7 separate regions of the Homo sapiens genome follow, and regions 2, 3, 4, 5, 6 and 7 are each linked to region 1. Evidence: promoter capture Hi-C in 16 types of primary human blood cells and fetal thymus (Javierre and others, 2016). All regions are on one chromosome and are shown on one strand. The core of a region is centred on a gene start or on the middle of the fragment in contact, and the rest is flanking DNA. Distances in the headings are between cores, read along the strand shown.

Evidence for each region. The method cuts DNA at HindIII sites, captures the fragments that hold promoters and counts their contacts. A CHiCAGO score of 5 or more calls a contact.
Region 2: a fragment that was not itself captured here is called in contact with the fragment with the promoter of TMX3 in region 1 in 2 of 17 cell types (M0 macrophages and total CD4 T cells); the score reaches 5.8 in M0 macrophages.
Region 3: a fragment that was not itself captured here is called in contact with the fragment with the promoter of TMX3 in region 1 in 1 of 17 cell types (total B cells); the score reaches 9.2 in total B cells.
Region 4: a contact is called between a fragment that was not itself captured here and the fragment with the promoter of TMX3 in region 1, in 5 of 17 cell types (activated CD4 T cells, non-activated CD4 T cells, total CD4 T cells and 2 more). The highest score is 10.7, in activated CD4 T cells.
Region 5: a contact is called between a fragment that was not itself captured here and the fragment with the promoter of TMX3 in region 1, in 1 of 17 cell types (naive CD8 T cells). The highest score is 6.9, in naive CD8 T cells.
Region 6: a contact is called between a fragment that was not itself captured here and the fragment with the promoter of TMX3 in region 1, in 1 of 17 cell types (total CD8 T cells). The highest score is 5.2, in total CD8 T cells.
Region 7: a contact is called between a fragment that was not itself captured here and the fragment with the promoter of TMX3 in region 1, in 12 of 17 cell types (total B cells, total CD4 T cells, naive CD4 T cells and 9 more). The highest score is 20.8, in total B cells.

The regions. Positions count from the first base shown.
Region 1 is chr18:68,713,141-68,717,220 of GRCh38, forward strand. It overlaps TMX3 (thioredoxin related transmembrane protein 3), which reads right to left and starts at 1,968. Exons shown (of 16, transcript NM_019022.5): 1 at 1,796-1,968; 2 at 706-760. The coding sequence starts at 1,841. It also overlaps a transcript of CCDC102B not described here. RefSeq lists silencers at 1,616-1,715, 1,896-2,025 and an enhancer at 2,226-2,295. The HindIII fragment of the contact is 941 bases long and covers 1,508-2,448 here.
Region 2 is chr18:70,116,428-70,120,507 of GRCh38, forward strand. All of the region lies in intron 26 of RTTN (rotatin), which reads right to left. Among named protein-coding and RNA genes, the nearest start is that of RTTN, 87 kb to the right of the region's middle. The HindIII fragment of the contact is 1,468 bases long and covers 1,103-2,570 here.
Region 3 is chr18:67,474,135-67,478,214 of GRCh38, forward strand. No RefSeq gene overlaps it. Among named protein-coding and RNA genes, the nearest start is that of DSEL-AS1, 40 kb to the right of the region's middle. The HindIII fragment of the contact is 9,635 bases long and covers 1-4,080 here.
Region 4 is chr18:69,937,131-69,941,210 of GRCh38, forward strand. The region is part of intron 2 of CD226 (CD226 molecule); the gene reads right to left. Among named protein-coding and RNA genes, the nearest start is that of CD226, 8.7 kb to the right of the region's middle. RefSeq lists an enhancer at 2,692-3,031. The HindIII fragment of the contact is 6,842 bases long and covers 1-4,080 here.
Region 5 is chr18:67,493,476-67,497,555 of GRCh38, forward strand. No RefSeq gene overlaps it. Among named protein-coding and RNA genes, the nearest start is that of DSEL-AS1, 21 kb to the right of the region's middle. The HindIII fragment of the contact is 3,041 bases long and covers 909-3,949 here.
Region 6 is chr18:69,913,206-69,917,285 of GRCh38, forward strand. All of the region lies in intron 2 of CD226 (CD226 molecule), which reads right to left. Among named protein-coding and RNA genes, the nearest start is that of CD226, 33 kb to the right of the region's middle. The HindIII fragment of the contact is 3,552 bases long and covers 186-3,737 here.
Region 7 is chr18:67,521,295-67,525,374 of GRCh38, forward strand. The region is part of intron 1 of DSEL-AS1 (DSEL antisense RNA 1); the gene reads left to right. Among named protein-coding and RNA genes, the nearest start is that of DSEL, 6.6 kb to the left of the region's middle. The HindIII fragment of the contact is 5,417 bases long and covers 1-4,080 here.

The DNA.
Region 1 (4,080 bases), core at 718-3,217:
TCTGTCTCTTTATGGGGGGTGAGAGAGAAAAGGACTAGAGTAGAAAAGTGCCTCCGCTGACACCCTCAATAAAGATGTTTTAGCAGAAGTGCTCAGGAAATGCCTCAGGTGAGGTCCCAATAAGGAGGCTGCTAAACAGAGACCACTGGGTTGGGAGTGTAGACATGCAAATGAGCGTGGCTGGCCTGGGAGGCCGAATCCTTGACTACCACTCCCTCCAGGGACTGTAATGCACCGGTTATACACCAAGTTTGGTGTAGGGAGGGCACCTTCCCCTATGCCAGAAAAAGCCTTGCAATTGTCTATGGTCAAGCCTGAAAGATCACACACAGGAATTTGGGTCTGAAGTGAACCTCCTCACTTACTATAAGCAAGGCTGATTAATGCTGTCATACTATGAAGATAAATACAGTACAGTTACCAAATTCTAACACCCATTCAATATAATTAAAGGAAAAAGACATAAATACAAGGTAAGATAATGAGGAAAAAAAGAATATGTAAAAGTTTGCCACAGTTTTTTGATCTCATAACTATTAATAAAACTCTTCTGGGCACACCCTCACCTTCACTTACAACAAGTGAAAAAAATGAGTGATATATAAAAATTGGTTCCAATCTAAAATATTAGAATCACATGCAAATATTCAGATATCTGAGTTGGACAGTTAAAATAATATTTTAAATATATATATGTATACTCACGATTCATCTAAATCTTCTACAAATCCTTTACAGACGACCATATCAAGTACAACAACTGAAAAAAAAAGACAAAATGTACACAATAAATGCTGATTATTTGGCTCATACCGTATAAGCTTAGTCATCTCTGAAGTGTTTTTGACCTTTCACAACCTACCAAAAAATTCATCACTGATGCATCCCAGGGTGCAAATGATGCAAAAGCAAAGGTAGTTCATCCATTTAATAAATATTTAGTCTGTATGCAACCATATCGTGACCGGCCAAGTTCTAGGTAAGCCAATAAATCTAATACACACAGTTCCTTTTTCCTCCATATTTTCACTCTCATCTTACGTCTCTTTTTAACCATCCTATCTTTTTGGAATACAAATAGACAGCATTCTTCTTTATTTCTTTTGCTTTAGTAGCAATTACCTCTTCCGTAAAAACTCCAAATGCCATTCAAAATATTTCCCCTCAAATAGATACGTAGGAAGAAAGTCGAGCTGCAACTCTAATACTTATTACACGGCAGTGCCTGACACAGAGTGGGCTCTAAAAGGTTGTTAAGTGAGCGGACCCCAGTGAGAATGAGGGCACTCCATGCTGACGGGAGGCAGCTGAGAACCGCTGACACACACTCAGGTCCTTTTCACACCGCACAATCCCGGCGGCCTGACCCTGATCTGTCCTCGACCACCCTCTCTTGAGTACTGGTGGTAAAAATCCTTAAACGTGACAAGACTCGGAACCTAAAGCCAAGGCAAGATTTGGTCGTTAAGCTGGGACGGCGGCATCCTTCTTGCCCATCAAAGGAGTAAGCTTTATTGAAACTTCTGCCACAATGAGAAAAACACAAACACAAGGCAGCGCGCCCTTCCCACGTCCAGCATTGGTCCGGCACAGCGGCGGCGGAAGGACCCCAAGGTGTCCGCTCCGTCAGGGCCAGGCAGGGTGGCGCGGCGGGGGCGGCAGGACGCTGCCGGGAATGGGTGGGCATCTCCACGAACCCCGCAGGCCTCGCCCCAGACCCGGGTCCAATCCCGGCCCCACGGCGGGGCCAGGTCCCACGCGCCCGCCAGCGTCCCGACCGCTGAGCCCCCATTACCTGTGGCGCAGAGCCGCAGGGCCGTCCAACTCTTCCACGCTGCCATGCTAGCCCGGGAGAGCTGCAGAAGCTGACTGTGCAAAAGAGGGATAAAGACACTGGGGTCCGCCGCCTGCCCGCCCGGAAAGGGAAACGGAGCCGACCCGGAGCGGAAGAGAAGCACCGCGCTAACTACGGGGGCGGGGCTACCCGGCCAGTCTCCGTCTCCGGCTATGCGCGGGAGTGCGGCGCATGCGAGGGGAGTGCGGCGCATGCGACAGCGCCTGCGCAGTCATGTCTTAAGAATCCTTTGCGCTCTCGGTGCCCCCCTCCACGCCCAGGAGCGTGGGAACCCTGCTTAAGGGCTTTACTAGGGAAAACGGTGCTGGTTCACTGGGGCGCGTTTCCGGGAAGGTGAATACCGGTGAAAGTTATGCTGAGGGTGAGGTAGGCTCTGACGACGCACTTGCAGGTTGAATACTGGCACATCATTTACTTGTTACTCCCGTGTGGTGAGTGCACCTGTGGGTTTTGATGCTGGATCAAATTCCTGGAAAGAGGCGCGCATTAAGACTGCGGATTGCTGAGCTGCGCGACACTCCGTATTTTTCCAAAACGTATTTGTAATATTCTTTCAACCTGTTTGCATAATGGGACATCTCTTAAATGCAGCAAGCTTTAATGCATTTTTGCCAAAGTAAGGATTGCCTCTTTAAAAACTTTCTCTTGAAACTTGAGAACATGAAGTTAAGCGTAGGATATTTTTTGATGGCTCTTTTCTGATTATTTTGGAACTAGATAAAGTAGTATGAAATATTTATATTGCTACCTGTTTTTTCTTCTATACGACAATGATTTGTAAAAACCATATACTTTTATAAGACGGTTACTGCAGCAATCACTACTTACGAACTAGATGAAATTTTTATGGGACATAAGGTACCAGAGAATTTAGATCAAACCAAATTTTGAAAACCTGTGACAACAACAGAAGGGGGATATGATGTCAGCCGGTTCACCTTAGGTTCAAAATTCCAACAGGCAAAAATGTCATAAAACGTCGTTATTCCTAGTGACTAGAAGATTAAATTGCACTCTAATTGAGAGCAAGCCCTAAATGTCACCCCCTTTGTGCATGCAGCATGGTATCCAGCGCAAGCCCTCTACAGATTCAATTTTTCTTTTTCTTTCTCTTTTCCTTTTTTTCTTTTTTTTTTAAGAAAAAAGTAGACTAAAACGTAAGGGGACTGTTGAAATGATGGGAATGTTCTCCCGGTGGTGGTGGAACAGCTTTATAATAGTACCATCGCCTCGATACTCTTATACAGAAGCTTTTCTACTTTCTTGGCAAGGTCTCTGAATGACCCATATTCAATTTTTTTTTTTCATTCTCATGTATTTCAAAGTTTTCTGTCTTCCACAGCATGCAAAGTGAAATAATTTCCTCTTATATTTGCGTTACAGTTTAAGTTCACATGTGGACAACAACAAAAGCCAGTTGACCTAGATCTGTGCTTTTCAGTAGTGTAGCCACTAACCACATGTGGCTATTGAGCTTTTGAAATGTGCCTAGTGTGATGAAATAACTGAATATTTATTTTTTTTAATTTCAGTAAACTCAAAAACTGACACTCGATTCAGCTATTGGAAAGTTTTTTTAATGTGGTTGGAACAACTGAGGTATGTGAATCTACTTTTTCAACTGTAAATTTTATGAAATCTAAATACTGATCAAGTCCCAGGCATGGGTGGCTCATGCCTATTATCCCAGCACTTTGGGAGGCTGAGGCAGGAGGATTGCTTGAGGTGAGGCGTCTGAGACCAGCCTGGTCAACACAGTGAGACCCCATCTGTACAAAAAATTAAAAAATTAGCCAGATGTGGCCTGGCGCGGTGGCTTACACCTGTAATCCCAGCACTTTGGGAGGCCGAGGCAGGTGGATCACGAGGTCAAGAGATCGAGACCATCCTGGCTAACACAGTGAAACCCCGTCTCTACTAAGAATACAGAGAATTAGCTGGGCGTGGTGGCAGACACCTGTGGTCCCAGCTACTTGGGAGGCTGAGGCAGGAGAATGCATGAACCCAAGAGGCCGAGCTTGCAGTGAGTTGAAATCGCGCCACTGCACTCCAGCCTGGGCGACAGAGCAAGACTCTGTTTCAAAAAAAAAAAAAAAAAATTAGCCAGATGTGGTGGCACACACCTGTGGTCCCAGCTACTCCAGAGGCTGAGGTGGGAGGATAAGTTGGGCCAGGGAAGTTGAGGTTGCAGCGAGGTGTGATCCTGCCACTGCATTCCAGCCTGG
Region 2 (4,080 bases), core at 587-3,086, 1.4 Mb after region 1:
TCTCTTTTCACCTTTGATTTACATGTTAACACTGAAATTCAGTGAACCTCAGCAATACCACTTGTAAAATATAGGGTGAATTACCATTTCTCAAGTACAATAGAGTAGAATAAGATGTCTCTACTGATGCCTACAGATGTCAAGTGCTTAATCATATCTGAAGTTTTTGTCTTTAGACGTTAGGATTCAATCCTAATTTTAAACCAACTACTTGGGCCATTATTTTGTCACTGTTGACCTCTAAAAGGCAACCATTTCTATAATGATGGCTCATTTTGTTTACACACACAGTTACCACTCATCATATCCAACTTTACATCCATCAGCAAGCTATGCCAAAAGTAACTGCAAGACCCTCAATAATGTCTGAGTGCACATTGAGCCCGTTACGGGAAAGCCAGCCAAGGAAAATATATATGCTGTGTAGTTCTGCTGAGCTTCACCAAAAGAAGAAAAAAACTAACAGCCCCACATTTGTGAACTTCCATCAAAAAAATGCATTCCAAAAAGAAAGGTATTCAAATTCAGCACTTCTAGGTTACTATAAACAAAATATCATATTAAAAACAGATTAGAGGTGCAATAAACTCCTAAATTGCCTAAGAATTACAATATGTTTGTAATAAGTGAATGTCTTGATAAAACACATGGAAAAAAATTTCACAAGAGAAAGTTCCTAAATCTTCCCTCGGGAAGTTAGCTGATTTTTCTTTTCACTTCCTCTTAGCATTCTTCTGACTAATCAGGCGTTCATATCTGCCTAATTTTGTTTTTGCAACCACAACTTTTGTATATCTTTTCATGTATGTCCATACATTCAAAGCAATTTACTTGGAAATGTTATTTTACTGAGCTTCTTAAATCATTTCTCACTTATTTTACTCACTTCAAAGGATAAACTTTAAAAGGTACTTGATTTTCTATTTCCAGGTTCCCTTTATCCTAAACATTGGTAGTTATATAACATATATTAATTTATCTTGTAGCATAATATTTAGGGAGTAAACCCAACTGATAGTGAACACTTAAGTTCACTTTTGTGCACTCTTAAAAGTAGTATTATTTATAACACTTGTGGTGATAATATATGAGATAAAGTAGAAGCTTTCCGAAGAAAGGTTTAATACCATACAAAACCAAATAAGTAAATGTAACTGTACCAAAAATCCTTTTCAAAAACTGCATTAAAATTATAGTACAATCATCTAGAGTCTTGTAGGAATTTAATTTTAATTTCATAACTATGAATAAATTATAAAATATACATAAACCTTATGACATACTACAAAATTAACAGTACATGTATGGTGTTACAAGTCTTAACAAATATAACAAGACTGAAATCATATCTAATATCATTTCTGACCATAGTGATAAAAAACTAGAAGTCACCAAAAGAAGGAATTCTGGAGTATTCACATATACATAAAAATTAAGCAACATGCTCCTGAACAATCAGTGGGTCAAAGAAAAAGCTAAAAGGGAAATTTTAAAATATCATGAGACAAACAAAAATGGACACCAAACCAACCAAAACTTATGGGATACAGCAAAAGCAGGTCTAAGAAGGACATACATAACAATAAACATCTATGTCAAAAAGAAAGATATCAAGTAAACAACCTCAAGGAACTAGAAAAAGAAGCATAAATGAAGCCAAAACTTAGTAAAAAGAAAACAATGAAGATAAGGGCAGATACAAATGAAATAGAAACTGGAAAAACAATAGAAAACAGTAACAGAATCAAGAATTGAGATTTTGAAAAGATGAACAAAATTGACAAACCTTTAGCTAGACTAATAAAAAAAGAAGACAAAATGAGAAACGAAAAGGGAAGACATTACAACAGATACCACAGAAACACAAGGAATCGTAAGAGACTATTATGAACAATTTCATGTCAACAAATTGGACAACCAAGTGGAAAAAATTCTAGACACATAGAGCTACCAAGATGGAATCATGAAGAAACAGAAAATCTGAACAGACCAATAATAAGGAGATTAAATCAGTAATGCAAAGTCTTTCACCAAAAAAAAGCCCAAGACCTGATTGATGGCTTCACTGCTGAATTCCACCAAACATTTAAAGAATTAATACTAATCTCTGTACTCCTAAAACCAAATGAAGAAGGAATACTTCCAAACTCACTTTATGACGGCAGCATTACACTGATACCAAAGCCAGACGTGGGAACTACAAGAAAAGAAAATTACAGGCTAATATCCCTGATAAACACAGATATAAAAAATCCTTTACCAAATACTGGCAAACTGAAACCAAGAGCACAATAAAAAGATCACTCACTATAATCAAGTGGAATTCATTCCAGGGATGCAAGGATGGTTCAACATACACAAATGCGTAAATGTGATACACCAAATTAACAGAATTAAGAACAAAAACCACATGATTATACCAACAGATGCAGAAAAAGCATTTGACAAAATTCAACATCCTTTCATAATAAAAACTCTCAATAAATTAAGTAGAAAAGGAATCCCAACACAATAAAGGCCATATATGAAAAACCCACAGCTAACATCATTCTCAATGGTGAAAAGTTTAAAGCTTTTTCTCTAAGATCAGGAACAAGACAAGGATGTCTACTCTCACCATGTCTATTCAATATGGTACTGGAAATCCTAGCCAGAGCAATTAGTATATAGAAAGAAATAAAAGGCATCCACATTAGAAAAAAGGCAAGTTAAGCTGTCCCTCTATGCTGATGATATAATCTTAAATCTAGAAAAACCTAGACTCCACCAAAAAACTTTGATCTTAAAAATGAATTCAATAAAGTTGCAGGATACAAAATCAACTTATAAAAAATCAGTAGCATTTCTATACAGTAACCGCGCCCCCCCAAAAAAAAACCTCATTTAAAATAGCTACCAAAAAAAATTAAGATATTTAGGAATAAATTTAATCAAAAGGTGAAAGATCTCTACACTAATGTCCAAGTTGCAGGTACCAGAATGAAATCACGCTCCAAGGAAAGGGGAGGGGAGGGAAGAGGAAAATGGAAGGAAAAAGCAAAGGAGAAAGGGAAGGGAGAAGGGAAGGGAGGAAAAGAAAGGACAGGAAAGAAGAAATGAAAGGAGACTAACAACCCAATTGTGGCGGAGAACCAGCAAGGACATCAAGATACAATTCATGAAAAGACCGAATATGAAAAAATCTCCATCTAATTCAAAATAAGTTATCTATTTATAAAACCACAAAAACCTCAGCACACACGCACCTCTACAATTTGACTCAGCAATTACAATTCTAGAAATTCAGTCTATAAATATACTTGCATATATAAGTAACCTTGAAAGTAATACATGGTTTCCATTTTTGTTAAATCTTAACTAGTGATAAAATTAAGGTTTTGTGTGCTTCTTGTAATTAACTACATAGCTTATTACTGAGTTAATAAATGTTTATTGAGAGCTCACTATGTGCAAGGCACTATAATAAATGCTGGGTATGCAATAATGAACAAAACAGTCCCTACCTTCACCAATCTACAATAAAGGAAAAGATAATTACTATGGTTTGAACATTCCCTCCAAAATTCATGTTGAAATTTAATCCCCAAAGTAACAGTATTGAGAGGTGGGGCCTTTGGAGGTGACTGGATCATGAAGGCCCTACCCTCATGAATAGACTAATCCATTCATGGATAGTGGATTAATGGGTTATCATGGAAGGGGAACTGATGGCTTTGTAAGAAGAGAAAAACCTGAGATAGCACATCAGCATGCTCAGCCCCCTCACCACATATACCCTGCATCACCTCGGGACTCTTCAGAGAGTCCCCACTGCAAGAAGGCTCTCACCAGATATGCCCTCTTAAACCTGGACTTCCTGCACCCCATAACTGTAAGAAATAAATTTTGTTTTTTATAAATTACCCAGCTTCTGATATTATGTTAAAAACAACAGAAAACAGCCTAAGACGATAATAAACCTCTAAATAAGTTTTATATACACACAAACATTCATATCAGTTAGCATTTCTGACAACACAGTAATTCATATTTTTACATAAAATTATCTCTAAGTTTCGCAAATGTGTTAATATATAATGA
Region 3 (4,080 bases), core at 968-3,467, 1.2 Mb before region 1:
AAACAAATCATGCAGAGGGAAAATATCAGGATGCAGTGTACAAGAAAAATTAGCAATAGCGATAAAGTGAAGGCAGGAGAGAGGCCACATTGCAACCTGAAAAACAGATAAGAATCCCAGTGGAATCCTGTGAGAATCCTAGAAAATCAAAAGAAATTCTGAGATCTCAGGTGTTATAGGGTGTCAGAAGTCAAATTATGTGTTTGTATTTTAAAAATGAATAACCCCAAAATGCTGGATATCATAAGAATTTCAATACAGGAACATCTTCATGCATGCCCGAACATCTAGCTCTAAAGTTGGAATGTTTAAATCCCATGAATATATATTGTGAAGATAATTTTAGCATATTAAATACAGAGCCAGAATTAATCAGAATACTGGGCTGAAGCCCTGGATTTTTCTAAACCTGTGACATGGGACAAGTCTCTGGGTCTCCATTTGTTTTATTATGAATACTTACTATACTAGCTTACAATCTGCCAGCTGCTATTCTATGGGCTTTACATATTAAACTTAACTTTTACAACAACCCTATGGAAGGTTCTGTTATTATAATCCTTTTACATCTTGAAGGGAATGAGGCACAGAAATATTAAGTAACTGGCCAGAAGTCATGCAATGTTAGTACATTGTAGTGGCAGGATTTGAACTTAGGAAGTTTGGCTCCAACCAACTGGAAATAATTTCCTGCTTGTCTTTCTTTACCTCAGCAAACTTTTGCAGAGCTCCCAAGGAATGCATGGTGATATATTTTACAATGGTTAGCCCAGTTCCATCCCTGATCTCGAAGAGCACATAATTCTAAAGTAAATTCTAAAGTAAAAAGGCTTTCTAAACTCACCTTAAACATAGATAACATGTTTCTTTGGAAACATACTTAGCAATTTATAGATCTTAGTATAAAGAAAAATGATGTTATTAACACATTTATAAATATTCAGATAATTATTTTTACTCTTCCCTTAAGCATTTTGCATAATTTAAAACAAGATTTTATTTATTCCAAAATATGTAAGGCAGCTTGTATCAAAATAAATAGTTTGAAATTTAAATTTGGAGAAATGGTGGGTCAGATTATTTGGATAATTAGTTCCTACAATTCAATTTAATGGCATATGCTCCATCTATTTCCTAACATATTTAGAAATGTTTCCAACTCAATGCTATGGTTTCCATGAGGAGGGATTTTTATTTTGAGACAGCTAAACTACTATATAATATTACCAGGTCTTATAAGTGACTTTAATAAATTTCTTAGATGTTTATTAAAATGACTAGTCTGTTGGACAGCAGAGAGAGGAATGTTTCTAACTCACTGCTGTGGTTTCCATGAGGAGGGGTTTTTACTTGCTCTCCTCTTACCTCTTTCCACGGGGGCAAAGTTACCTGCTGATAAATATAGAGGGGAACTGCCAAATAGTCTAGACTCCAGTCCTGATGTTTCTTGGGAATCAGCCTTACCTGAGAGTAAGATTAAGTGTTCTAATCCATGCCTCCAGGTTAAGAGTACTGTAAGGACAGATTTCCATGTGCGGTTTCCAGCACCACTTGGGGCTGGGTGGGAAACTTTGCCAAAATCTACTCTTAAGTATTAGGGAGTTCATCTTTGTCACATTCTTCCAAACTGGGCTTTCTCACTAATAGAGCTTACATTTCAATCTCTGATCCTTTGTTCCCTCGACAGGATCATAATGTAAGCAGGGAAGGAGAAGTGCAATCCTGCCCTCCTCAAAACTGTGACACAATCTAAACTCTCCCACAGAGATGGGGCAATCAATGTGAGGACTTAGCAAAAGAATGCAGAAAGAAACACAGACCTAACAACACCTTTATTTTAGCCTAATGATACCCATTCAGACTTTTGATTTCCATAAATGTAAAATAATAAATTTCTGTTGTTATAAGCTACTAAGTTTATGGTAACTTGATAACCTTATACATACATGGATGATCACAATTTTTACAAAAGCATAGAAGGGAGAGCTCTGCTTTCATGCAGGTGAACATTGGCCTGAATTTAAGTTATTCATGAGTAGAAACTTCCTATCATTTTTAGGTATGATTTTATTGAGAGTTCTACAAATATAAGCCTCATTGTACATCATATATTGAAGGATTTAGATTCAAGTGGCAATAATGTCTGTATATATTTATGTATTTTTGAAACAGTGTCTCACTATGTTACCCAGGTTGGAATGCAGTGACAGGATCACAGCTCACTGCAGCCTTGACCTCCTGGGATCAAACAATCTTCCCATCTCAACCTCCTGAGTATTTGAGACCACAGGCATGCACCACCGCATTTGGCTCAGTTTCTTTCTTTCTTCTTTTTTTTTTTTTTTTTTTGTAGAGATAGGGTCTTGCTATCTTGCCCAAGCTGGTCTCAAACTCCTGGCCTCAATTAATCCTCCTGTCTTGGCCCCACAAAGTGCTGGGATTACAGGTGTGAGCCATCGCATCCAACCATTTATATTGGATAATTTGTGTAAATCATGTATCTTCTGGTCTTCAGTGGCACATAATGTTATGATTAAACTACAAGGACATAAAAGCAATTTGGGCACATCTTTTAAAACATGTTTAAATAAACATTATGGTTTAACAAACTTTGCCAAGAACTGTCACAAGAAGCAAGAAACGAACACTCTTTAATACCAGATGTGAAGTGATTTCTCCTAGCGTAAAGTCAAAATACATTAGTGACTCAGCCCTGTGACAGCTTGTACCCTGGAGATTATCTCTTCAAAGTGCAGAGACAGACTGAAAAAAATTAATGATATGTTTGTTTGAGAATCAACTTAAATGTCTGCATATGAAATACTGAAATAATGTTTCTTAGCAGAGTCATATTTTTTAATTTGTTAAGACAATATAGTAGGGAATACTAATTTTATTTTGAATCTTTCATTAGTATTTCCAACTTTCAGGGCACCACATACAGTTTTGACAGGAGAATAGGAGCAGAAATTCAGCCTGAGGTCCACTTACTAAACTGGGGCTGGCATGGGGATATACCTGCCCCATATGGAGGAAGGAGTGTCACCTTGTCAAGTCAGGCACTTTGCAGGACTTTATCCATCCAGAAAGGACATCTTTTCCTAGATTTCACAAAGGTTTTCTATGGACTGGTGACAGATCAGCATGTGATACAACAGACCACTATTCAAAATATAAAACCAAATATAATATCTTTGGCTAAAGTAGTATCTAAATATCATAAGTTTGCAATCATCCCTTTACATGGTTTGAAGTGGTGGTACTAATGGTGATCACATTTTGGATTTATCGATAAAGTAGAAATTTGCCTGAAATGTGTTGATAGGTATTATCTTGTTTTGCTTATATAAGTACACAGGCCAAGTTAATATGAGTAAATGTCTATCAATGTCCAAGATTTGTAACTTCTATCTTAGTATAATTATGCAATTAAAAAATGTTTCTCTATGTTCTGTACCTACTGAAAGCTATGATTTGCTACGATCCTTTCTCGGTAAGCTATGAAGGGGAAACTGAGTGAGTAGTAGTTATTTAGTACCAAGGACTTGAAGAATAAAAAATACTTCTGCATATTTAAGTGCTGACATAGATATTTTAGTGTCAGAAGAAGATGTTCATTATACATTGTTATATGAAATAAATAGATTACCAAAAATATTTTATATGACCTAATGCATAGTCTTTTGTGGGGAGGTATGGGTAATTACTCACAGATAAAATTCTAGAAGTACACAGGCCAAGATGTTACAATGTTTATCTCCATTTCAGTAATAATATATTTTTAAGTTATTCATTTGTGCAGACATATTTTCTAATGTTTCAATGATGCTAAAGTTTATTTTTTTAATTGTCAAAAAAAAACCTTCTTTCCTTAGGGTAGTTTTTGCTACTAGGGAAGAGGAGCAAACAAGAAAATGACATATGTATATGCTATCACTCTCATTCAGATCAGCACTATTTCCCGCTAGTAATATTTCAGTGGATACCTAAGTGATCTATTAATCCAAAATCTCTGTACTAGTCAGGAATTTTCAGAGAAACAGAATCAACAGTATGTGTGTATACGAAATTTGCTCACAT
Region 4 (4,080 bases), core at 809-3,308, 1.2 Mb after region 1:
CCTTGCCTTTTGAAGCAGCAATTCAACATGTCAACCAAGCCATGAATTGTAAACCGGAATAAATTGCTTTAATTTGTTGATCAATTCTATGTGTTGGTTCAATTTTAGAGGTTTTTGGTGTTTTGTTGTTGGGGTCCTTTTGAACAATGAAAATTATCTTCCAAAGTAGGTTACACTGGAGCCTACTATCTAGAAAATAGCTGTCTATTTTCTAGATAATTTTCTAAAGCAATTCTCCTGGAATAGTGCCTATTAATCTCAACATCCAAATTTTCTGGGTTGGCAGTTCAAATTCCACTTTTTCAGGGACTCTGCCCTGAATTTCCTAGGTAAAATAAAATTATATCCTCTAGACTACAATGCGACTTATTTTTTTGCCTCAAATAATAATTTGTGATATAAACTTTTCTCTCTCCCAATATTCTACATCCTATTTAGAGCTAAGATCTATGTCTTTCTATCTTCCAAACCACTGAACATTACATTGTACATTGTAGATTCTCAGGAAAGACTTGATGAGTGAATTAATGGATAAGTGGGTTCAGCTCCTGCAAATCAGCACACCCATTTATAAAAGCCAGATTTGAGACACTTCCCTCTCCCCAGCTTTAAATCAAATTTAAAGGCTGAGATTATACCCCAGCATTAGAAAAATGTTGGCCATGCTGCCCTCAACTAATATATAGGCCAGCATGATCTTTAGAATCCCTTTCATCATAGGATTCCTCAGAACTGCCATCAATTCTGGAGCCCTTAATATTAAAGGAATCTCTTTAGTGCCACTAACCAGCAGATATATACAAGAATGAAAGAAAACTTTGGCTGCTATGTCAGCTGCTGGGAACCTGGACAGAGAACACTTGTCCCTGAAGGGTGTAGAGATAAGAGCCTTCTAAGAATGAGCATGGATGGCATATAAGGAGCCTCATCCCACCTGGGAGAGAATGAGACTCTTAAAGGGAAACAGTGAGGAACATCTCTGTGCCCAGTTTGAGATAAATGGACTGGAATATGGGAGATCACAGAGTCAGCAAACATACAATACAGCCAACACAAAGTACCTGCATGTGTGGAGCAAGAAAATCTAACCCTCTACTATAAATATGAGTTCTATGTGTCTTCTGCTCTCACATCAATAATTCACCTGTTCACTTTCCTCTCCCTCCCAACTCTCCCCCTCTTTTCTCTATGCCCTCTACATTCTTTAACATGAACACCTTCTTTAACACACTACAATGTGACCATCCTCCAAGCCACAAGCTATGACCTTAGACTTCTGCCCCCATCCATTGGTACTTTCTTAGTTAACCCCATCCATCCACATGTGCTGGATGATCATTCAGATGACTTCAAATTGGATATTTTCAATCCTGGTTTGTTGTTCCATAATTTCAATTGTCAGCTGGTCAAAGGCTACTTTACAATTTAATACACCTGAAACAGACTTAATTCCACTCTTGCTAGCCAAGTTGGTCTCTTAATTTCACATCTTTTTCACTAAAATCATCATTTTTTAGTCCTTGGATCATAAAAATTTGAAACCATTGCTGAAACTTACCTCTACCTGGCCCCCAGGCCATATCAGAATGAAGATTTCATCCTTACCTTAGAGCTTTCAACTGCTCAAAAATTGCAATCACATCTCTTTTCACCATTAGAAATCAGTAGATTTGGCCAGGCAAGGTGGCCTATGCCTGTAATTCCAGCACTTTGGGAGGCCAAGGTGGGGTGGATCACCTGAGGTCAGGAGTTTGAGATCAGCCTGGCCAACATGGCAAAACCCCCATCTCTACAAAAATACAAAAATTAGCTGGGTGTGATGATGCAGGCCTGTAATCCCAGCTACTCAGGAGGCTGAGGCAGGAGAACCACTTGAACCCAGGAGGCAGAGGTTGCAATGAGCTGAGATCATGCCACTGCACTCCAGCCTGGGCAACAGAGTGAGACTCTGTCTCAAAAAAGGAAAAGAAAAAGAAATCAGTAGATTTGAAAGAAATCTTCTAAAACATTTTGAGACAAATGCAAAATAAAACACCTGTATAAGGAAAACACCCTGACTATGAGCCTTAAAGACCCTTTCAGCCCTTCCTGATTCTATTCTATCCCCCACCTACCATGTTTCTGAACTTTGCTTTTCTTTATAGTTTTACCACGTTTGTATCTATAAATAACGTATTGTTTAATTATGCATATTTCTAAAACCTTTAAAGAAAAGGAACCCTAGTTTACCTATTTTTTTTGGTAACTTGCTCTTTTCTTTCAACACAAAGTTCATGAGCTTCATCCATGTCGGTGAGCAAGTGATAATTCACTCATTTTAGTGATGTAGAGTATCCTAATGTGTGAATAGACCTCAGTGTGCTTTTCGGTTCTACTGTTGATGGGTATTTGGGTTGTTACCAATTTTTTGCTATTGCAATCACTGTTGCTATAAATATTGTCAGGAATTTTCCCTATAATGAGAGAACTCTTGGATACCAAACAGAGTAGAATTATTGGATCATAGGATTTGGGGTTTTTAACTAGCTAATGCCATATCATTTTCCAAAACAGGTATGATGGTTAATTTTACGTGTCAATTTGAAGGGTGTTTTGGGATGAGATTAACATTTAAATTGGTGAATTTTGAATAAGCAGTTTGCCTCCATAATGTAGGTGAGCCTAATTCAACAAAAAGACCAGCCTCCCCAAGCAAGAGGGATTCTGCAGCAGATGACCTGGGCTTCACCTGTACCATCGGCTCTCCTGGGTCTGCAGCCTGCAAGCCCACACTGCAAATTTGGGCTTATCAGTCTCCATGATCATATGATATAATTTGGCCGTGTGCCCACCCAAATCTCATCTTGAGTTGTAGTTCCCATAACCCTCACGTGTCGTGGGAGAGACCAGGTGGAGATAACTGAATCATGGGGGTGGTTTCCCCCATCCTGTTCTCATGATAGTGAGTTAGTTCTCATGAGATCTGATGGTTTTATAAGGGGCTTCCCCTGCTCTGGGCACTCACTCTTCTTCTCCCTGCTACCATGTGAAGGACATATTTGCTTCCCCTTCCACCATGATTGTAAGTTTCCTGAGGCCTCCCCACCCATACTGAACTGAGAATCAATTAAACCTCTTTCCTTTATAAATTACCCTGTCTCAGGTATGTCTTTATTAGCAGCATGAAAACTGAGTAATACAGTAAATGAGTACAGCAGAGAGTGGAGGGTTGCTGTAAAGATATCCACAAGTGTGAAAGCAACTTTGGAACTGGGTAACAGGTAGAGGTTGGAACAGTTTTGAGGGCTCAGAAGAAGACAGGAAAATGTGGGAAATTTGGGAACTTCCTAGAAATTTGTTGAATGACATTGACCAAAATGCTGACAGTGATATAAACAATGAAGTCCAGGCTGAGGTGGTCTCAGATGGAGATGAGGAACTTTTTGGGAAATGGAGTAAAGGTCACTCTTGCTATGCAAAGAGTTTGGTGGCATTTTGCCCCTGCCCCAGAGATCTGTGGAACTTTGAACTTGAGAGAGATAATTTAGGGTATCTGGCAGAAGAAACTTCTAAGGGGCAAAGCATTCAAGAGGAAGCAGAGCATAAAAAATTTGGAAAATTTGCAGCCTGATGATGCGACAGAAAAGAAAAACATTTTCTGGGAAGAAATTCCAGCCAGCTGCAGAAATTTGCATAAGTAATGAGGAGCCAAATGTAAATCACCAAGACAATGGGGAAAATGTCTCCAAGGCATGTCAGAGACCTTCATGGCAGCCCCTTCCATCATAAGCCTAGGAGGGAAAAGTGATTTCCTGGGCCAAGCCTAAGACCCCCTGCTCTATGCAGCCTCGGGACTGCATATGGTGCCCTATGTCCCAGCCACGGCTAAAAGGGGCCAACATACAGCTCAGGCTGTTGCTTCAGAGGGTGCAAGCCCCAAGCCTTGACAGCTTACACGTGGTGTTGGGCCTGCGGGTGCACAGAAGTCAAGAACTGTGGTTTGAGAACCTCTGCCTAGACTTCAGAAAATGTACAGAAACACCTGGGTGTCCATTCAGAAGTTGCTGCAAGGGCAGAGCCCTCATGGAAGACCTCTGCTAG
Region 5 (4,080 bases), core at 1,179-3,678, 1.2 Mb before region 1:
TTAGGTCAACAGTTGTGTGAGAATATTATTGGATCTACATTTACCTTATTATTGAAAAGTAAATTATACTTTTAATCTCAATTCAGATCACTTTATCTATTAATGTAACTTTCTAAACCTAAAAGTGAAAGAACATTAAGAAAAATGCTAGTAGATATTTCTCAGAGAGGGCTTTTGTGGTGCCCCTCATATTTCTCTGTATTTTTAAAGACATTCTTCAAAACATACCTATTTTTTAATACAAAAAAAGGACTTTTCTAATTTTTCTCCTTCCACAATACTGTACTATAATGAGAGCAAAGAATATCACTTTAAAAAGTGCTGAAAATGAGCGAAAGGGTAAGATTAAAACAAAACTTTTTGCAAATGGTTGAAAAAGAACAATTCTTGTTAAAGTGGGACAGAGAGAGCACAAGTGCACAGAAACAGACCTGTGGGAGCTGTTGCAGGAGCTGTTGTTCAAGCAGAGATCTCTGAAAAAACCAGAGCTACATATGGAAAGGAAAGAACTTCACAAACAGTTGATCCTCATTATGTGCAGATTTGCATTTGTAAGTTTGACTTCTTGCTAAAAGGTATGTTCCCTCAAAAATCAATAATCACTGTCAATGGTCATTTGCAGATATATGCAGAGTGGCAAAAAATTTAAGTTACCTGGAGAGAGAGCACATTCCCAACTGAGGTTGAACAAGGTAGTGCTTTGCCTGTTTGTTTCCACTTTCATGCTATAAACAAGTGCATTCTTAAGGGCTTATTTAATGCCACGTTTTTCACACTTTTTTGTGTGATTTTTGTTGGTGAGTTTGCTGTTTAAATTGGCCCCAAAGTGTAGTGTTGCAGGGCTAATAGTGTTCCTAGACTAAAGAAGGCTATGATATGCCTTACAAAGAAAATACAAGTGTTAGATAAGCTTCATTCAGGTATGAGTTACAGTGCTGTTGGCTGTGAGTTCAATGTCAAAAACCAATCAACAATATTTATTATATAAGGTGTCCTTAAACAGAAACACTCATGAACCAAGGTTATTGACTGATAAAAATTTAGTGACCAAAGGCTTCCACCACCCTAACCCTTTATTTCCCCAGGAGCAATAGGGTATTGTTCACTAATTCAGTGTTTGCAACAATGTTATATGACATAATTACTGCAGAAAACAAGAAACAACTGTAACTGATTGTACTATTATATGCCTAATGCAGTGGATTTCCCTCCACTACATAGTGGAATCCCCTGGAGGGTGAGCATTTTAAAAATGCAGATGCTGGTTACCCATTTTACCCTCCCCCCAGGCCACGGAAATCTGAATCTGTGGAGGTCTCTGCTTTGATGTTTTTAAAATCTCAAGTAATTCCAGAAATTCTTCTTTTCTACAAATTATACCTCAAGAAAGTGGAAGTTGTTGATTAACAGGCTCTTTTCAGAAGAGAACATCATCTGGGATGTTGCTCTTCTCTCCTTCCTTCCAGCTTCCTGGAATGCAGCAATGATGATTTCAGCTCTACTAGCCTTCTTTGCTCATGAGGCAATTTTGAAAATGACAAAAACTAGTTTATTTAGTTTATCTTACCAGCTAGTACCTCAATTCCAACAATCTTGGATGCCACGATTTAAAATCCCTTTTACAGTGTTTCCTAAGCCTCATATTCTCATAGCCACTTTACCCTCTATAATCAGTCCCTTGCATGCAACCTTATCTCTTATTTTTTTTTTCTTCTGTCATCTCACTCACTCCTGGGGAAAACACAATCTGGCTAATCTAGCTTTCCATTTTTTTCTACACTTGCATGTGTGCAGCTGAACAGAGCTGGGGTAAAGCAGGTTTCTTACAGAACGTGAACAGCCATTACTTTCAAGAAGGCCATTAGAGCTGTCTAGCAATGGTACAAAATTTCCCCTCTCCATACCCTTTACTCTTTCACTCTTCTAGATGACTATTTTTATACCTCCTTTTCTCTTATCCAGCCTCCAAGACTTCTTTCCCCATCTTTTTTCTCATCTATTGATTCTGCTTTCTATTTCATTGAGAAAACAGAAGTAGTAAAAAGAGTTAAGTAGAATAATATATTCAAAATGCTGTAAACCTAGGACTGTATGTACAGCCAACTTACGTTGCAAGAATGAATGTCATAAAAAGACATTTTAGGCAAACAAAAATTGAGAAAATATTAAAGATGCACTTAAGGCAGAAAAAAATGAGCACAGAATAAAGGCTTGAGCAGTTTGATGGTACAGAAAGAAAAACATAAACATATGAATAAATATACAAATAGTGGTTGTATAAAAGAGTAATAATCACTTTTCATTTTTCTCTAATAAGCCCTGAAATAATAGAAATAGGATGCATTGCTTCTAGTAAAAGGAAGGGAGGCATTAATCATCTCAAAATAATTCAAAACAGAAGTTGAAAAGGAATATATTAATAGTTAAAAGAGGTATAGACAGAAAGTACATGCTAATTATAAATAAATCCATGAATATCAATAATCACATGGATATAAACACTCCAGATAAAAGACAATGATTCTTAGAATATCAGTAAAATCCAGCTATCTTCTATTTACAGTATGTATATTAAAAACATCAGGCCACAAAATGTTTGGTAATATCAAAATGAAAAATTACATCTCAAACTAATACTAAACAAAGTTCCAACATACTGAAGATAAAAAGTAATAACAAGAGATAAATAGTGCTGTATAAATTTAAGAATAACTCAACCATGAGTTTCACTGGAAGTCAGAAAACATTTAGAAGGGTTAATGAATAAACTACATATCAAAATGTGTGGAATATAAGCAATAGGGTTTAAAAAATAAATTAATAGCCTTAAATTAGTATAGTAAAAAATAATAATAATTTAAAAATGGGAATGAAAAAAAAATTACCTCCTGACATTGAGGAGCTGGCCTGTCACCATCAGCCAGGCCCAATATCCTCTTGTTGAACATGAACATTTCACAGAACAAAGCCACTCTGTCACCTCAGTGATCAAGACAAAAACGACACTACTCCATAATCATGTTTGAATACAGAAAAAGTATAAACATTTTCTAAACCACAAAATAGTGCACATTCATGTCTCCCGGTTAATATAAGCAATGGCTACTTTTTCATCAATTACAGCTTTAGCCTCTCTGCATTCATGTCTCCTTCTAGATAAGATTTATTCAGATACCCAATCATAGAACTACTCCCACTTCCTAAGAGCAGCTAATCCAGAGAAAAGCCACACTTCTTAAATCTCTCTCACTAAAAGAAGCAATAAATCCAGCTTACTCCTGGTGGGTTTTGGCAGGAGTCCGGCAAAAAAAAATGGATCATATATCTCATTAAAGAAGATACAAAACACACCATCGAAAGCAAATTAGAAAAAAATAAAATAGAATGAAGGAAATAGGTAAAATCAGAAGCCAAAGTTAATGCAACAGCAAATGTACATAAAATAGAAGTTAGAAACAAAGTAAAACTAAAAATTAATCTTCAAAAAGACACATTATAAAAGGGAAACTCCAATTAAGTAATAAAAGGAAATAAAGCACACATGCTCAATATTAAGGATAGAAAAAATATGTAGGGGATGAATAGAGAGGCAACAGAATCTGCATTTTGAGTAAACTTGGGTCAATAAATGTGAAAAAGAAAAGGACACAGACTGGGCAATAGAGTAAGACTCCATCTCTACAAAAATAATTAAAAAAAAAAAAAAAAAAAACTAGCCAGGTGCGGTGGTGTGCAGCAGTAGTTCCAGTTATTTGGGAGGGTGAGGTGGGAGATTGCTTGTGCCCAGGCGGTCAAGGTCACGCCATGCAATGCAGCCTATGTAACAGAATGAGACCAAAAAGACAAATTCTTAAAACCACAACTTGCCAAAACAGACTTACAAAATAACTATATGAGCTAAATAGAATAAGTCTATAAGCACAAAATACAATTTTACGCATTGTTAAAAAGCTTCCCACAAAGAAAATACAATGGTCAGACAGCTTTACAGATAGGTTCTAAGGAACATTCTAGCATTAAATCATTTCGATCTTATGCAAACTCTTCTAAAGAACATAAAACTGAAAGATTTCCAACTTA
Region 6 (4,080 bases), core at 712-3,211, 1.2 Mb after region 1:
GTGGAGAAGAGAGAGAGACATCACAAGAATACCAAGGATATCATAGAAAGAAAAATGAACGTGGAAACATTTTAGAAAATAGATCGCCAGAGCTCTGAAAACCAAAAAAGTCCTTATTGAAGAGATAAGTGTGCCTAAAGGATTTGTTATTGTCACAGAGCACAGATCAAAGATGGGATTATTTAAGCTTTTTATTTCTCAGAGTGAGAAAAGGACAGGTCTGTTCATAATTAGAAAACAAAATAAACTTTTTATTTTCTAAACATGTGCTTTTTTCTAAATGAAAAACTGCCTAAAGCAACTCTAGAATTTTATTAATCTATGTTTATGCATTACATGTGAACATTATTTAAAAAAAATAGATCATCTTAGAGCAAACTCAGTAAACGTATGCCATACTCTTAGAGTAACAACCTTTGTAAATTACTGTTTAAATTACAAGCGTGGGGTAAGTTGGTGCTTAGAGTAGTTGGGAAGGAGGCAGGAGAAGTCTCTGCAGGATGGACCTCACGAGCAGGCAGGAGTTCAGTGTGGGCAGAGAACTCTTTTTGCAGGGCTCAAGTGTCCTAGTGAAATGCTAAGCCTGCATATTATGGAGCAAGGGACCAGCCCTCTGAAAGATGGGCTTCAGATGTGCTAAAAGAATTGGAGAATTATAGACAACCTCACCGGAAAGGGAGAAAAAGGAAGAAGATGTTTCTTACTAAAGTGTGAAGGGGAAAAAATGGCATCCCACGACTTCTCTATCATTCTATTGATCTTAATGAGGTTTCTGGAAACAAAATGAGTTGGGGGAAATGCACTACTTCTATTAGAGAGATTTCCAAAATTTGGAAAGCTGTCTCACTGTGATCATATTTTCATAGCATGATTTTGGAACAATAATCTAAAATGTCCAGTATTTATACTACCATCTATGAATTTGGCTTGTATGTATTATGTCAGAATGTGAAAAATCTCTGGCTCTGAAATTCTACCTTTCTATATAATATTTCAGATCACACCTGCAAAACTACTCTACGACCTTGACATTTTTGATGAGTTTGATGAGATCTTCGACTGCTTCAAGTCAATCACCTCATATCAGTGCCATTGGCAATTTGAGGAAGACAAAGAGGAGCTTGGTTCAAGTTGATTAGCACTACCAGAAAAGAAACTCACAGTGAACACCATATATCAATTATTCCATTGAGTTCATGGACCAAGAGGAGAATATTTATTTTCAAGTTTTGTGGTTAGCAATTCCTTGTGATAGTTCTGCCAGTTTCCAATTTTCTCACTGAAGGGCTACAGAGTTCCGTATTTGTGCCAAGTCCTATATATTGCTCCTTTACAAAAGCATTTCTACTGAAGTAAATTGGAAAAAGAAGAAAAGGCAAGATAGACTAGACTTTTGGCCCTCCTTCTAATTGAGAATGACAACCACAACCATTTCAGTTGCATTCAGCTGTCATTCTGTTACTCCCAATAAAACAGAAATGTTCATGCTCTAAAGTAACTAACACAAATAACCATCAATTGAGGACCTACTATATTTAAGACAATGTCCCAAATTCTGAGCCAAATCTCAAGGAAATTGCAAAGGAAAGTCAAAGGAATTAAAATCAATAATGCAATAGGTCCTGACTCGCCTGAAAGTAAATTGGCACAAGAAAACATCCAAAAAAATATTTTTTTACTATCTTAGCATACTCTGATTTTCTAGAAATTCTACTCTTGTTCAGTTTAAAGTGAGGGAAGATTTTACTTTGAAGTATTAGAGCTTTACCAGAGTTGTTCATTTTGGAAACAGTATCGTTAATGATTGACAATGCCATTCAGGGTAATCACATCTTCTAGTCATAGTTCACGGTGATTCTAAATGGAGGTGAACACATTTCACCATTTCATTTTATCCCTCTCACACAATAGCACCTGGACACGATTTCAAAATGGTTAAGGAGACTTATAAAGTATTTATTACAGAAGAGAACATTGGATCTGATAGGGTTGACAATCATTGCTATTTGCTTTATTAGTAGCAGAATGAGTAAAAATATGCAGAAATGCATATACACTTTAGCAAATGATCAAAGAGTCCATATGATGTATTTTTAATCTAATAAATGAATTCAATGTTAATATAACTAACCAAAGGTCCTCAGCTACTTTTTATCATGCCATGGTTCTCCATTTGCCAGAATTCATCTAACAGCCCCATTAAAATTGTAAACACTGGAAGCAAAGATGAAATGGAGAAAACAAACAATTCTTTTCCAGATTACAGTTAGTTCTCAAATATACCTTTGGAAGCTAGGTCAGAAAGAACTTAGATAAATATGCTTCCTATGAATTGGTATATGTCCTATTGCTACGCGCCATTTTTTAAATGCGGAAACTAATTGAAATAGTTGCTTTGAAATATTTAAGCTCAGTGTTTGCCATTCTCCTTGGCTCTTTTATCTCACTACACACTCTTTTTCTAAGTTAGGGATGACTTCCATTTCCCCTGCATAGTACGCACTTCCCCGAAGTCTGCAATTTAATTTCCACCTCCATAATTTTAAATATTTTAAAGTTATCATTTTACACTCTCAATTTTCCTCTACAATTGCCTTCATAATGGCTTCCTAACTCTACTGTCTTGGAATTACATTTTTCACATTTATAGGTTTGTCTTTTAAAAGCAAAACAAAACAAAAAAGCCATAAAATTTGGGGATCAGAATCAAATCACAGGATGTGCCAGAGCCAGTGGTAATGATTACAGATATACCCTAATGTGAGGTTTATTGCAGTTGTGCTATTTCATTTCAGAGGTATATTACTGTAGAATAACAGTTAAGAGAACAAAGCATATTTTTTGCCTGTCAATAGATTCAATTGCATTTTACAGCAAAAATAATTTACTCGCAGGTTTAAATTAGACATCTAAGTGATGCAAATAAATAAATCACTGATGATTTCAGCAACCAGAGATAACCACACAGATACTGATTTGTGATTTATTTGTAATATACCACAAACAAAACTAAAAACTTCAATGTATATTTCAGGAAAAGATTAATTTGGTGTGTGGTTACTTATAAAATCATGTAAGAGTAACAAGACAAAACCAATTTTAAATAATAGAATTTAAGAATGCTCTAGTCCTAAAGAATAATTTAGTATGACATTGACCATCTAACCATCCCTCTATTTCCTCTCCCAAAATATAGTTCGGATGCTGAAAGTGAAATACACCTTAAAAAATAAAAGGTAAAATATAGGCTGTCAGACTAATCTGTACTGAATAAAATACCCTCCGGAAAGCCATGACTCAAAACATTTATCATCTCAACAAGAAACAATGATGTGTTTGATTCATAAAGTAATACAAAAAGTATATTTGTTTTCCTGATGTTTAGACAAGCATCAAACCACACAATATTTTTTAATGAGTCATTGGACTAGAAATCTGAGCTTTATCTTTCATACTAAATACACGGTTCATCCACTAGGGTATCAACCTACTAGGGGCATGAACTGTCCTTTTTATACATTTTGTACATAAGGGAACAGACGAGATTCTTATACTCAATATGAGCACCCAATGGGCACTCATTATATGCTCATCAAGTTTGCTTTAAGGGATGTTGAGAGAGCAGTATAACTTTCTGCATACGAATTCTGAACCTTTGTGACATGGTATCCTTCTGACAATCTCTATCTTGGTTAATACCATCTCCCCACATGACCTGCTATCAAGATTTGAAGCCAAGCTTCACTCCTTCCTTTGTGCATCCCTCCCATTTCACTCACACCCAAATCCTGTCACTTCCTCCTCCTTAATAGCCTTACATCTGCCTACTTCTCTGCTTTCCCACTTGAACAGGTTCTTATCATCACCTCTCCCCAGGTGGTAATGACAAGGGCCTTGTCATAATTCTCTATATACATTACATAGTACAGCCAGAGTAATCTTTGTAAAACAGATCTGGCCCTATTAGTCCCTAGCTTAAAATTCTATGTATCCCCAAAGCCTCCAGGATAAAATTCAAACTTCTCAGCACATATTCTAAGGCCTAATAGAAGTAGTCATGGTTTCTCCAAGTGTCAGCTC
Region 7 (4,080 bases), core at 831-3,330, 1.2 Mb before region 1:
TTTCCTTTTGGCCTTTTGGTCTCAGTCTATGTTGTGCTTATATAACAGAATACCTGACCCTGGGTAATTTATAATGAATGGAAATTTATTTCCTCACAGTTTTGGAGGCTAGGAAGTCCAAGGTCAAGGTGCTGGCAGATTAGGGCCCAGTTTCTCTACTGCAAAGATGGCACCTGAAAGCTGCAGCCTCCAGAGATGAAGGACATTATATCTTCACATGGCAGAAAAGGAGGAGAAAGAGAGAATCCACTCCCACCAGCCCTTTTTATAGAGCATTAATCCATTCTTCATGAACTAAACAGGTTTCTCATTTGGCCACACCTCCTAACACTGTTGCATTGGGGAATACGTTTCCAACACTTGGATTTGGGGGAACACGTTGAGACCATAGCACCTTCCATCTCTTCCTCCACATGAGGACACAGTGTTCATTTCTTTATTGCCTCTTCCATTATGTGAGGATTCAGCAAGAGATATCATCTTGGAAGCAGAGAGTAAGCCCTCCCCAGACACAGAATCTTCTGGCACCTTGATCCTGGAATTTCCTGCCTTGAGAACTCTGAGAAATAAATTTCTGCTATGTATAAATTACTTTATCTGTGGTATTTCATTATAGCAGCAAGGACAGACTAAGACACTAGCTTTCTCTAATTTATTCACAGATGACTTTTTGTTGTTTACCAGCTACTGGCTCCATTTTTCTTCATTTGACCTAAAATACTTCTAAACCTAGCTGTCTCAGCTCTTATAAAAACTTGAGCTATGCCTACAGGCATAATTGGCAGTAAACTAATTACTACCAAATAATATTTGGAATGATGTGTCTTTTTGGGTTATCAGAAATGCCCTTCTGATGTTAATAAGAGAATGTCATTTTACCCACAACCCCTGTACATATCATGCACCCCAATTACCTTTACTATCAGATTTATTTCCACTGGAACAGTGTTTTTCAAATTACAGTTCTTAGACTACCAGTATCAGAAAGTTCATGGTGCTATTAAAAATGTCAATTATCAAATCTGTCTCAGCCTTATGGATTAAGAATCTCAGTGTGTAACCTGGTATTCTGTACCTTAAAATGTTCAAGTGCCTAACAAATTTTGAGAGTCACTGTTCGAACATAATTCTCATTCTTTTCTCCTTGCCACACACACCTGTGCCTGAGGGTTTGTTTGGCTACATAACAGAAACATTCTCAGGCTGGCAGAAGCATAAGGACTGATTAGGATTAGGAACTGGTGTTGCAGAATAACTCAGAAACATGTATGTAGCTATTTTGCAGAACGTTTAATAGTCTTGCCTTTAAATTATTTATTCACATGTGAGGAAGTGAGATATTAGAGTCAAGCAATAAAGGCAAATAAGATTTATAAAACAGAAAAGAGAAAAAAATGAATACAACCTAGAAACAATGAAAGTTGTATTTTGGGGGGCAAGTTGATTAAATGGCAGTTAGCAGAGGAGTTTGTTGCCCAGAAGTGAGAGTTTAGCTGTAGAGCAGAAGTGACAGGTTCCTCTGTAGAGTGTTGGCCACTAACCCGCCATCAGCACCTGTATCTTACTCAGATCTAGCCAGTATCATATTTCCTCAGTAGGCTTCCTTGCTGGAAAGCCACTAAAAGTTTCCTTTTTCCATCCATGTGAGGCAGGGAGACTTCTCCCTCTGCTCCTGAGCATTTACTTCCTTCTCTTTTTCTGAGAATCAATTTCACCTTCTCCTTCATGGTGATACAACTCAACATGGCTATCCTTCAGCACAAGTTTATATCACTTTGACTCCACCATCGGGCAGAAATCAATTGTCTTTTTTGAACCTCAAATCCAAATTCTCGGAAAAGATGATTTCCTAGCAGAGTCAGCGTTTCATCATGACTCCAGCAGCAATGGAAAGCAGTTCAGGGTCATATAGTTCAAATACTGCTACAGGGGCTGACATTCGTGGGTTCGAGATATCAATCATCTTAGGAAGAGAGAGCTGGCTTATACCTTAAAAGTATCTATTATAAAATGACACAAACCAGAGAGCCATGCACCCCCAGGGAAGCACATAAAAGCAGTGTATTTGGTGGTGAGTAGTTGAGGTGTGGGAGGTTGAGGTATGGTGGGATAGTGAAAGGTTGGGGGGGAGGAAAGGTTCAAAAATGCCCACGCTTTATGTGAACAGGCTGACTCCTCTTTCTTATCCCCTGAAAATTATTCCTTTTGTAGAATGTATTAAATTTACCTAATTAGAAGAATCACCTAGAATTACTTGTTAAAAGTACGAGATATGAGATCCAAAACCCTACTTGAAGGTAGAGTGAGGAAGGAAATATAAGAAGCCTGTATTTTTAAATTCCATTATGATCCTGCAAAATTAACAAATCACCATTAGATAACCTTTTAAAATACTGCCAGCTACCAACATCGCCCTAAACCTGCTGCCCCCACCAATAACTGAGCCCCTGATAACCACCACAGTCTAGTTTTATGAGATCAATTTGTAAAAAATCCACATGTGAGTGAGTTCATGCAGTAGTTGTCTTTCTGTGCCTGGCTTATTTCACTTAACATAATGTCCTCCAAGTTCATAGATATTGTTGCAAATGGCTAAATAATATTCCACTGTGTATATGTACCACATTTTCTTTATCCACTCATCTATTGATGGACACTTAGGTTGATTCCATAGCTTGGCTATTATGAATAGAGCTGTAATTAACATAGCAGTGCAGAGATATATATCAGTGTCTCTTTGACATACTGATATCATCACAAAAATAATAACTATAAGTGATGCATAGGTTAATTAGATTTAGTCAAACTGTAATCTACATATACTTCAAAACATGATATTTTACATGATACTTACAATTTTACCTGTCAATTTATTTTATTTTATTTTTCTAATTTTTTTTTTTTTGAGACAAAGTCTCACACTGTTGCCCAGGCTGGAGAGCAATGGCACGATCTCAGCTCACTGCAACCTCTGCCTCCCAGGTTCAAGTGATTCTCTGCCTCAGCCTCCCCAGTGGCCACCACACTTGGCTAATTTTTGTATTTTTAATAGAGACAGGGTTTTGCCATGTTGGCCAGGCTGGTATCAAACTCCCGATCTCAGGTAATCTGCCTGCCTCAGCCTCCCAAAGTTCTGAGATTACAGGCGTGAACCACTGTGCCTGGCCTTACCTGTCAATTAAAATAATAATAATAATAATGAAAATAATAATAATAATAATTGGCTAGCTACTTAAAATAGAACATAATTTTGTTTCAGATTCAAAGACGTAAAGTTTGATAGAGATGGGAGGTAGGTAATTTATGTGGGTGAAGCCAGCCAGGTGCTTGTTGTCATGTGGAACGTAAGGACCCATGTCACGAGATAATCTGATTTTGCAAAGAAAGCCAGAAATCTGAACTTGTATGGGAAATTATCTGATTTTTCTAATGGCTTAACTTGTTTTGAAAACTCTGTGAATGCCAAATAAAATGGATTCAAATCATAAACGGCAAGGTTTTGACTTCTGATTGTGAGCTGGCTGCATGAAAATAAATTTCCTGATTTTGCATATGCTAGTTCAGCACCCCAGGAATTCAACTTTCCATTTTAATGCTGGGAAAAAAAATACTATCTTTTCTTTTAAGTTATCTACTACTATAACTCCTCTCAGTCTGGAACGGTCAAGGACTGGTCATGTATTCAAGCAATCTTATTTATTCCTGCAGTTATGTATTAAGTTTTATTTCCTTAATTCAATAAATATTCACTGAGTGCTCAATAACGCACTGTGGAAGACGCTGAAAAACCCCAAGGGGAAAAAATATTCTTCGCCAAATGGAGCTTATAATCTGTGGATAGAAAAGGCACAAAAGGCATGAATTATTACTTCATTTTTTCTGTATTTTAATCATTACTTCATCATATTTAAATGGCTTTGAAGGTTCATCTATATACTGATTCCAGTATTTTCAAGAGCACATCTAATTTGATGAGGATGGAAGATTGTTAATGACTCAGAAGCTGGGAAAATAGGTAGAAACTCAAATGTTGTAAGAAATCACTAGAATGTTTGCATTTTTTCAGAGGTTCACTCCTTC